Regions from separate parts of the Homo sapiens genome. Here region 1 is linked to region 2. The links are contacts of gene promoters, found by promoter capture Hi-C in human tissues and cell types (Jung and others, 2019). All regions are on one chromosome and are shown on one strand. Each heading gives the region's core, a stretch centred on a gene start or on the middle of the fragment in contact. The rest is flanking DNA. Distances are from core to core; before and after follow the strand shown. Region 1 overlaps TNPO3 (transportin 3). Region 2 holds the start of IRF5 (interferon regulatory factor 5).

What was found. Contacts are between HindIII fragments. The study calls those that stand out against the background at their distance.
Region 1: a fragment that was not itself captured here is called in contact with the fragment with the promoter of IRF5 in region 2 in 4 of the 25 tissues and cell types used here (IMR-90 fibroblasts, lymphoblastoid cells, mesenchymal stem cells and 1 more).

Annotation. Positions count from the first base shown.
Region 1 is chr7:128,975,533-128,978,702 of GRCh38, reverse strand. TNPO3 (transportin 3) reads left to right here. Exons shown (of 23, transcript NM_012470.4): 17 at 2,768-2,884. Among named protein-coding and RNA genes, the nearest start is that of IRF5, 39 kb to the right of the region's middle. The HindIII fragment of the contact is 5,983 bases long and covers 1-3,170 here.
Region 2 is chr7:128,936,252-128,939,609 of GRCh38, reverse strand. IRF5 (interferon regulatory factor 5) reads right to left here and starts at 1,683. Exons shown (of 9, transcript NM_001098629.3): 1 at 1,561-1,683. RefSeq lists enhancers at 707-776, 810-1,393, 3,061-3,355 and a silencer at 1,057-1,816. The HindIII fragment of the contact is 4,364 bases long and covers 1,505-3,358 here.

The DNA.
Region 1 (3,170 bases), core at 584-3,083, 39 kb before region 2:
CAGGGTGACAGAGCAAGACTCCATCTCAAAAAAAGAATTTGAAATAGGAGCCTTTAGAACAAAAACTTTGCTGATGAAATGAAACACTTTTGTATTTATTAACAAACTAAAAAAACACTTGAAAGAGATTAGTGCCTGTGATAGGTACATTGTCTATAAGGGAAACAGCCTAAAATCGCTTCTGTATAGTAGCTATAGCAGTATTCTAAGTAGCAACACAGTCCATTGTGAAATTCTGTGAAGCGAATGACTTGGGCTCAGTACTTATATACTAATGGTAAGCATTTTTATATTGAGATCCTTGGGGAAAAAATGTAGCAAGTCAGACTTTGCTGTTTCTTTGCCCAAAGGGATTTTCTTCAATCTTGGCCACAGTTAGTTGTCCACAGAAGTCTCTTGTCAAAAAATAAATTTGACTCTTTTAGTCATTAAGATTGATATGTAATTATGATGGTATGACTCACTAAATGATGTTCTCTAAAATCATATTCTCATCTAGAACTGTATGAGATGCCTATGCTTAAGTCACTAAGTAATTGTGTTGATGTTAACCTTAGAGCAGGGCCAGGATGCCAGTGCCTAGGGCACAAGATTTAGGGACACAAGGCAAAGTGCCAATCCTGCATTTGCAGGACTCTGAGGTGCTTTCTGAAATTTTGTACCCATGCTGTGAGGAAAACAGTCACAGAGCTCCAGGCTAGAGTCATACCCCACCCAACCTGAAGTGACCATGCTCCACCTAGGGAGAGGAGAGCACCTAGGGTGCAGATTTTAAGGAGGTCCTGGCCTTAAGAATGAGTTCCCCCTGGCCAGGTGCAGTGCCTCACGCCTGTAATCCCAGCACTTTGGGAGGCCGAGGTGGGTGGATCACGAGGTCAGGAGTTCAAGACCAGCCTGGCCAAGATGGTGAAACCCCATCTCTACTAAAAATACAAAAAATTAGCCAGGCGCAGTGGCAGGCGCCTGTAGTCCCAGCTATTCATGAGGCTGAGGAAGGAGAATCATTTGAACCCGGAGGGTGGAGGTTGCAGTGAGCTGAGATCGTGCCACTGCACTCCAGCCTGGGTGACAGAGTGAAACTCCATCTCAAAAAAAAAAAAAAAGAAAAAAGAAAAAAAGAATGAGTTCCCCCTTAAATTCTGCATCATAGGTGCCCTCAACCACAGGCACAGGCATGCTGGTGCGGTGTTGGTACTTGGATAACCTTGCCTCTCTAAATTATAGATTTGATTAAAGATTGTACAGGTAAATATTTCAACAGAATTTTAATTTTTAGTGATTTCTCTACTTTCACTATATGCTGAGCACAATAATGTATGTTCGCATTTAGGCGATTGCCACCTCTGGTCAAGTGTCCCCTTCAGTGCAATACATTCTGGGTCTACTACAACTTGATAGACTGCCCCTTTGCTGTTGGAGGATACCCTCATGACTTTGATACTGTTTTTTAATTCCTGCCAGTTAAGTATATGACTAACCCAATAGAGTAGGTAGCACTATTATATAGGAAGTGTGTTCTAGAGTCAGTACATGTGACAAAAATGAAAATTATCCTTAAAAAATCCCTTAACTCAGGAGCCAGCAATTGATAGTCAGTGGCCTTGCCACCTATTTTTGTTTTTGTGTTTTTTTTAATGTTTTACTGAGCTATAGCCATAATTCATTTACGTATTATCTATTGGTCATTTTTGTGCTACACTGGCAAACTTGAGTGGGCAGAAGACTGAATGGTGGATAAGATCTATACTTTTTACAAAGTAGCCCTTTAAGAAAATGTTTGGCAACCCTTGACTTAATCATTCCTTAGTAGAGCATATAATTTTGAGTTTACAACATGGAATGGATTCATAGCTCCCATCTCATGCTCATTCCATGGCATATGCCAACAGAAGAATTAAGTTACTGTATCCTTTCAGTCCCAAGTTCATAGAGTTGAATTTATGTAATAAGATCAATACATATGTACTGTGGTGGCATTTTAAATAGGTGAGTGTACAATTGTTTCTTAATTCTGGGAGGATAGTGGAGTAAAAATTCTAAACAAATCATTTAAGCGCATATCGTGGCCGGGCATGGTGGTGCACACCTATAGTCCCAGCTGCTCGGGAGGCTGAGGTGGGAGGATCCCTTGAGCCTGGTAGGTTGAGGCCACAGTGAGCCAAGATCTCACCACTGCACTCCAGCCTGGGCAACAGAGCGAAACCCAGTCTCTTAAAAAAAAAATAATAATGTGCATATTGTGTTAAAATTTTTGCTGTGTTGAAATCCAAATATCTTCGTAGAAAACACTATTTTTTACTTAAAAGATAAAATAGGTTTAGGAGCAACTCAAAATTTAAACAATGCTTTCACTGTCTTCTCCAAGATGAAGGTGTTTGATACTGTTTTCCCAACTGTGGCTATATATCCTATTTAAAAGTATGACTTATCTACAGTGCAAATGAGAGCAACTTTTACGTACTGGATGAAATATTCTGTGCTGGGGTTTTGCAAATAATCCATGAGTTCCCTGATAGCTTCTAGCTTTAACTCTTATACAGCATTGTCTTGGGAAGATGAAAGGTCAAAGGGTTGGAAGAATAGAGAACCTGAAAATCATTGAGATATTGAGCCCTGTGTTTCACAAAATAGTGCTAAGAAGCTTTATACTATGTTGCCTTAAAGAGAAGAAGCCAATCTATCTCTGAATTTCTTCCTGGAGACAGCTTCGTAAGTTGGTACTTTTTGAAGGACGAAGCATTGAACTAATTGTTTTTTCCCTCAACAGATGGTGAATGTGTACCACGTACATCAGCATTCCTGCTTCCTGTACCTTGGCAGTATCCTTGTGGATGAATATGGCATGGAAGAAGGCTGTCGGCAGGGACTGCTAGACATGCTCCAGGTATCTTTTCCATGAGGAGTGTAGACGCATCAGGCCTAGAGGGTCTGAAGGCCTAGCAGCGTATTCTTTACCATGTCTTTAATTCTGTTGCTTCTTTATGTTTTCCCCCAGGCATGTTGATTTCCTAATAACAGGGAGGTGGAAGCTTCCCAGTTGTTCTCTGAACAGGCCTGTTTGAGAGAATGAGAGACTGACCACATGAGTGTAATGATTATTACATGTTACTGCCTGGTTTATGCTCTTCCAGAGATAGGGTGTTTGGAGGGGGGAGGAGGTGAGAAAAATG
Region 2 (3,358 bases), core at 434-2,933:
AGCAGTCCTAGTAAGAGTGGCCAGACAGCAGGCGCCCTGCTGCTCCCAGGGTTGGTCTGGGTCACATGTCTCCTTGCAAACCCACACCCAGCTCAGGGAGAGGACAAGGGGTTCCCTGTACAGGCCCTGACCCCCAAATCCCACCCCTCCGGGTCAGCTGCCCACACCCTGGGCCCTGCTGCCCACCTGGTCCAGACAGGCTGAGGCTCTGGGGCAAAAGGTGCCCAGAAAGAAGCTTCTTTCAGCTTCCTCCCAGGGTCAGGGTAGGGGAAGACCAGGGTACAGGGGAAAAACCCCAAAGTAGGGCCTTTAGATAAAAAGGGGTGATTTCCCAGTGCTTCCCTTGACTCTTGGAACCCCTCAGCCCCAGCACCCCAGGCCCCATAACTACTGGGGGTGGGGGCAGGAAGGGGAGGTCTTGCCAGAGGGCCTCCTGAGGGGCTACAGTTTCCTACATCGATACAGCCGAGCCCTCTCTGGTTCTGGTCACTTATCCCCATTCTGGGCCCTCGAGGAGCCCAGGCCCAGCCCAGTCCTCCGCCCCTGCTCCCCCCTCCCCTCCGCCCCCACCCCTCCCGCGTGCTCCGCTGGGGCACACCCCCTGGGCCAGCCCGCGGAGCCACCCCCACCTCCAGAGTCGGCCTCTGGACCTCTCCTCCTGCTGCTGGAGGAGCAGCACCCCGGTCCTCGCCCTGCTGTGTTCAGCGTGGCCGCGAGGCTGGGAAAGTCCCCCACTCCAGCCTCTGCTCCCAGGTACCCGCTCCCGCCCCTCCCGGGGTCCGGAGACAACCATCTCCCCACGCATCCCGGCCATGCTAGCCTCACTTTTCCTCCACGTTTAGCCTCTTCATTGTTGCCTTCTTAAGTTCTGGGACAGGACCTGAGGAAACCAGCCCAGGAACTATTGCGCCCCATCCTTTTCCGCTGCTCGGGGGACGAGAGTCTGCCATTCCCGGCCGCGAGCCCAGGGACGCAGCCTCTACCTGACACCATCTTCCCCCAAACTCTTGCACAGTTCCTGCCATTGGCCTGAAGATCCCGGGGGATGAACGCTTTAACCTCAACCTCTTTTCCGAAAGGGTGAGGGTGGCCCGGTAAGAGCAAGGGCGAGTGCATCGAAAGTAAGGATCGGGCCTCGCTCCTCTGTGGTCCAAGCCAGCCTCCAGCGGGGCTCCCGGGAACCCCCATTCTGGGCGATGGCGAGGGGGAGGGAGAGCAGCAGAGCCGGCGCCCCCCGCAGCGCTGCCCACTCCGCCGCCTGGGTCACTGGGCTCCCCGGGCGCCAGCACCCCAAACCGATCGGGGCGTGGGAGGCGCTTTGGAAGTCCCAGGCCGGCCGGGCGCACCCTGCTGTAGGCACCCACCCGAGCTCGCTTTCCAGGCGCAGCTGGACGCGGACCCCGCCCTACTCCAGTCTTCATCCCGCCGCCCGCAGGTGCCTGGGGGGCGCGGGGCCCAGTCTAGGCCTAGACTTGGGGGCAGTAGCCGGCACCGCTCCCGCCACCCTCGGGGCGCGCCGGGCGCGGACGCAGAGAGGAGAGCGCGGCGGCCGGGACCCACCTGTCTGCGGTGCGCCTGCGTGGCTGCGCCAGGGAGCACCGGCCGGGCGGCGGGACCAAGCTGAGCTCTGCCCAGGCTGCGCCTCCCGCCGGTCCGCCAACCTGCCGGGCACTTCCGCGTCTTGCCGCCCCCGCCCCTGGGCAGCTGCTGCTGAGCTCCGGGCGCGGGCAGTGCCCCGCCCCGCCCCGCGAATCCACTCCGGGCCCCGCACTGACCTGGCAACTGCAGATCCGGGCTGAGCCTCGGGCCAGGCCCAGGGCCTCCAGGGAGATGCCAGACGGCGCGGTGCCCTAGACTGGCCACTGGCTCTTTTGGCAATCTGGAATGGCAAAACTGTCATTTGACAACCCCGTACCTCCCGCTGCAGTGCTCAGTTGGGCCCTGGGAGAGGGTGGGGTGCTTCCCCACTCTGGTCCTCCGGGGCTGCACACAAATGAGGGCGCAGTGTGGCCGACCCACAGCTCCAGGCCCTCCTCTCGCCTGCCTACACCCCTGGCGAGGGTGGCTCTCGCCCTAGAACACAGTCGCTGCCCCCAGGATCCAGACACCCCTTCCAGATGTGCTTGCAGGCGGGAATCCTCTAGTCACTCTGTGCCTTTCTCATCCTCAAACCCTGCACCTGTCTCGCCCCAGCTCCCCTAAGTCGCCTTCCAGTCATCCCAGGGGCAGCGGCGTGGTCGCCTGTCCCACCTCCTCTCACTACTACCTTGACCGTCGACCTGTGGTTCTGAACCGTTTTCGATTCCATAAAGAACCTCACCCCAGAACCTCCACCTTCACACACCTCCTGTTCCTTCTCATGGAATGTTCTTCGCTTGGTAACTCTTGCTCTTCAAAATTTCTGTTTCTGAAATTTTCAGCATCGCCTTCTCTGGAAAGTCTGCCTTGACTTCCCCTCCCAGGTGGGGTTCCAGGGTGCAAATAGCTTCCTGGTTGATTTTGCTTATGATTTTGTTATGGATTGCCAGGGGTTTGGTCCAGGTCTGGCTGCTCACCGCACAGAAAGCCTATCACTGAGACAGCGAGTATTGCCAGGGAAGACTTTATTCCGGTGACATCAGCCAGTGAGCTGTTGAGAGGGGAGACAAACCTCCAATCCATCCCTCCCCTTGACTAAAGTTAGGGGCTTATATAGCAGGGAAGGAAAACAGGAGGGACAAGGAAGAGGAATTGGTCAACAGGCAGCAGGTGTACTGATGTAAGTGTCTCAAGCTTCAGTTCTATGAGCATCTGGCTTTTTGGAAAATTCAGCGGGTTTCAATTTTGATGTCTGATTTCCACTCGAATCAGCTTACTCAGGAACCTCCCTCCTGTCTTTTCATTGTTCATTTTATTTTATTTTATTTTTTGATATGGAGTCTTGCTCTGTCACCCGGGCTGGAGTGCAGCAGTGCGATCTCAGCTCACTGCAACCTCTGCCTCCCCAGTTCAAGCGATTCTCCTGCCTCAGCCTCCCAAGTAGAGACGGGGTTTCACCATGTTGGCCAGGCTGGTCTCGAGCTCCTGACCTCAGGCGATCCACCCGCCTTGGCCTCCCAAAGTGCTGGGATTACAGGCGGGAGCCACTGCGCCAAGCAGAGCCTTGTATTTTTAACAAATAAAGTAGTATTTGTTGATGAATCAGAACTTTGACCTTCCCTCCCCTCCCTTCTCCTGGGTTGAACTTTACCTTTAACAAGTTAAAAAAAGACACTCATGTGTTAACGTTTTTTTTTTTTCTCTTCTGTATCTCTCCCTCTTTCCTGACCTTTGAAGCCCTAATATGAAGTCGAAATATCATTATATATAAGTATTTTAT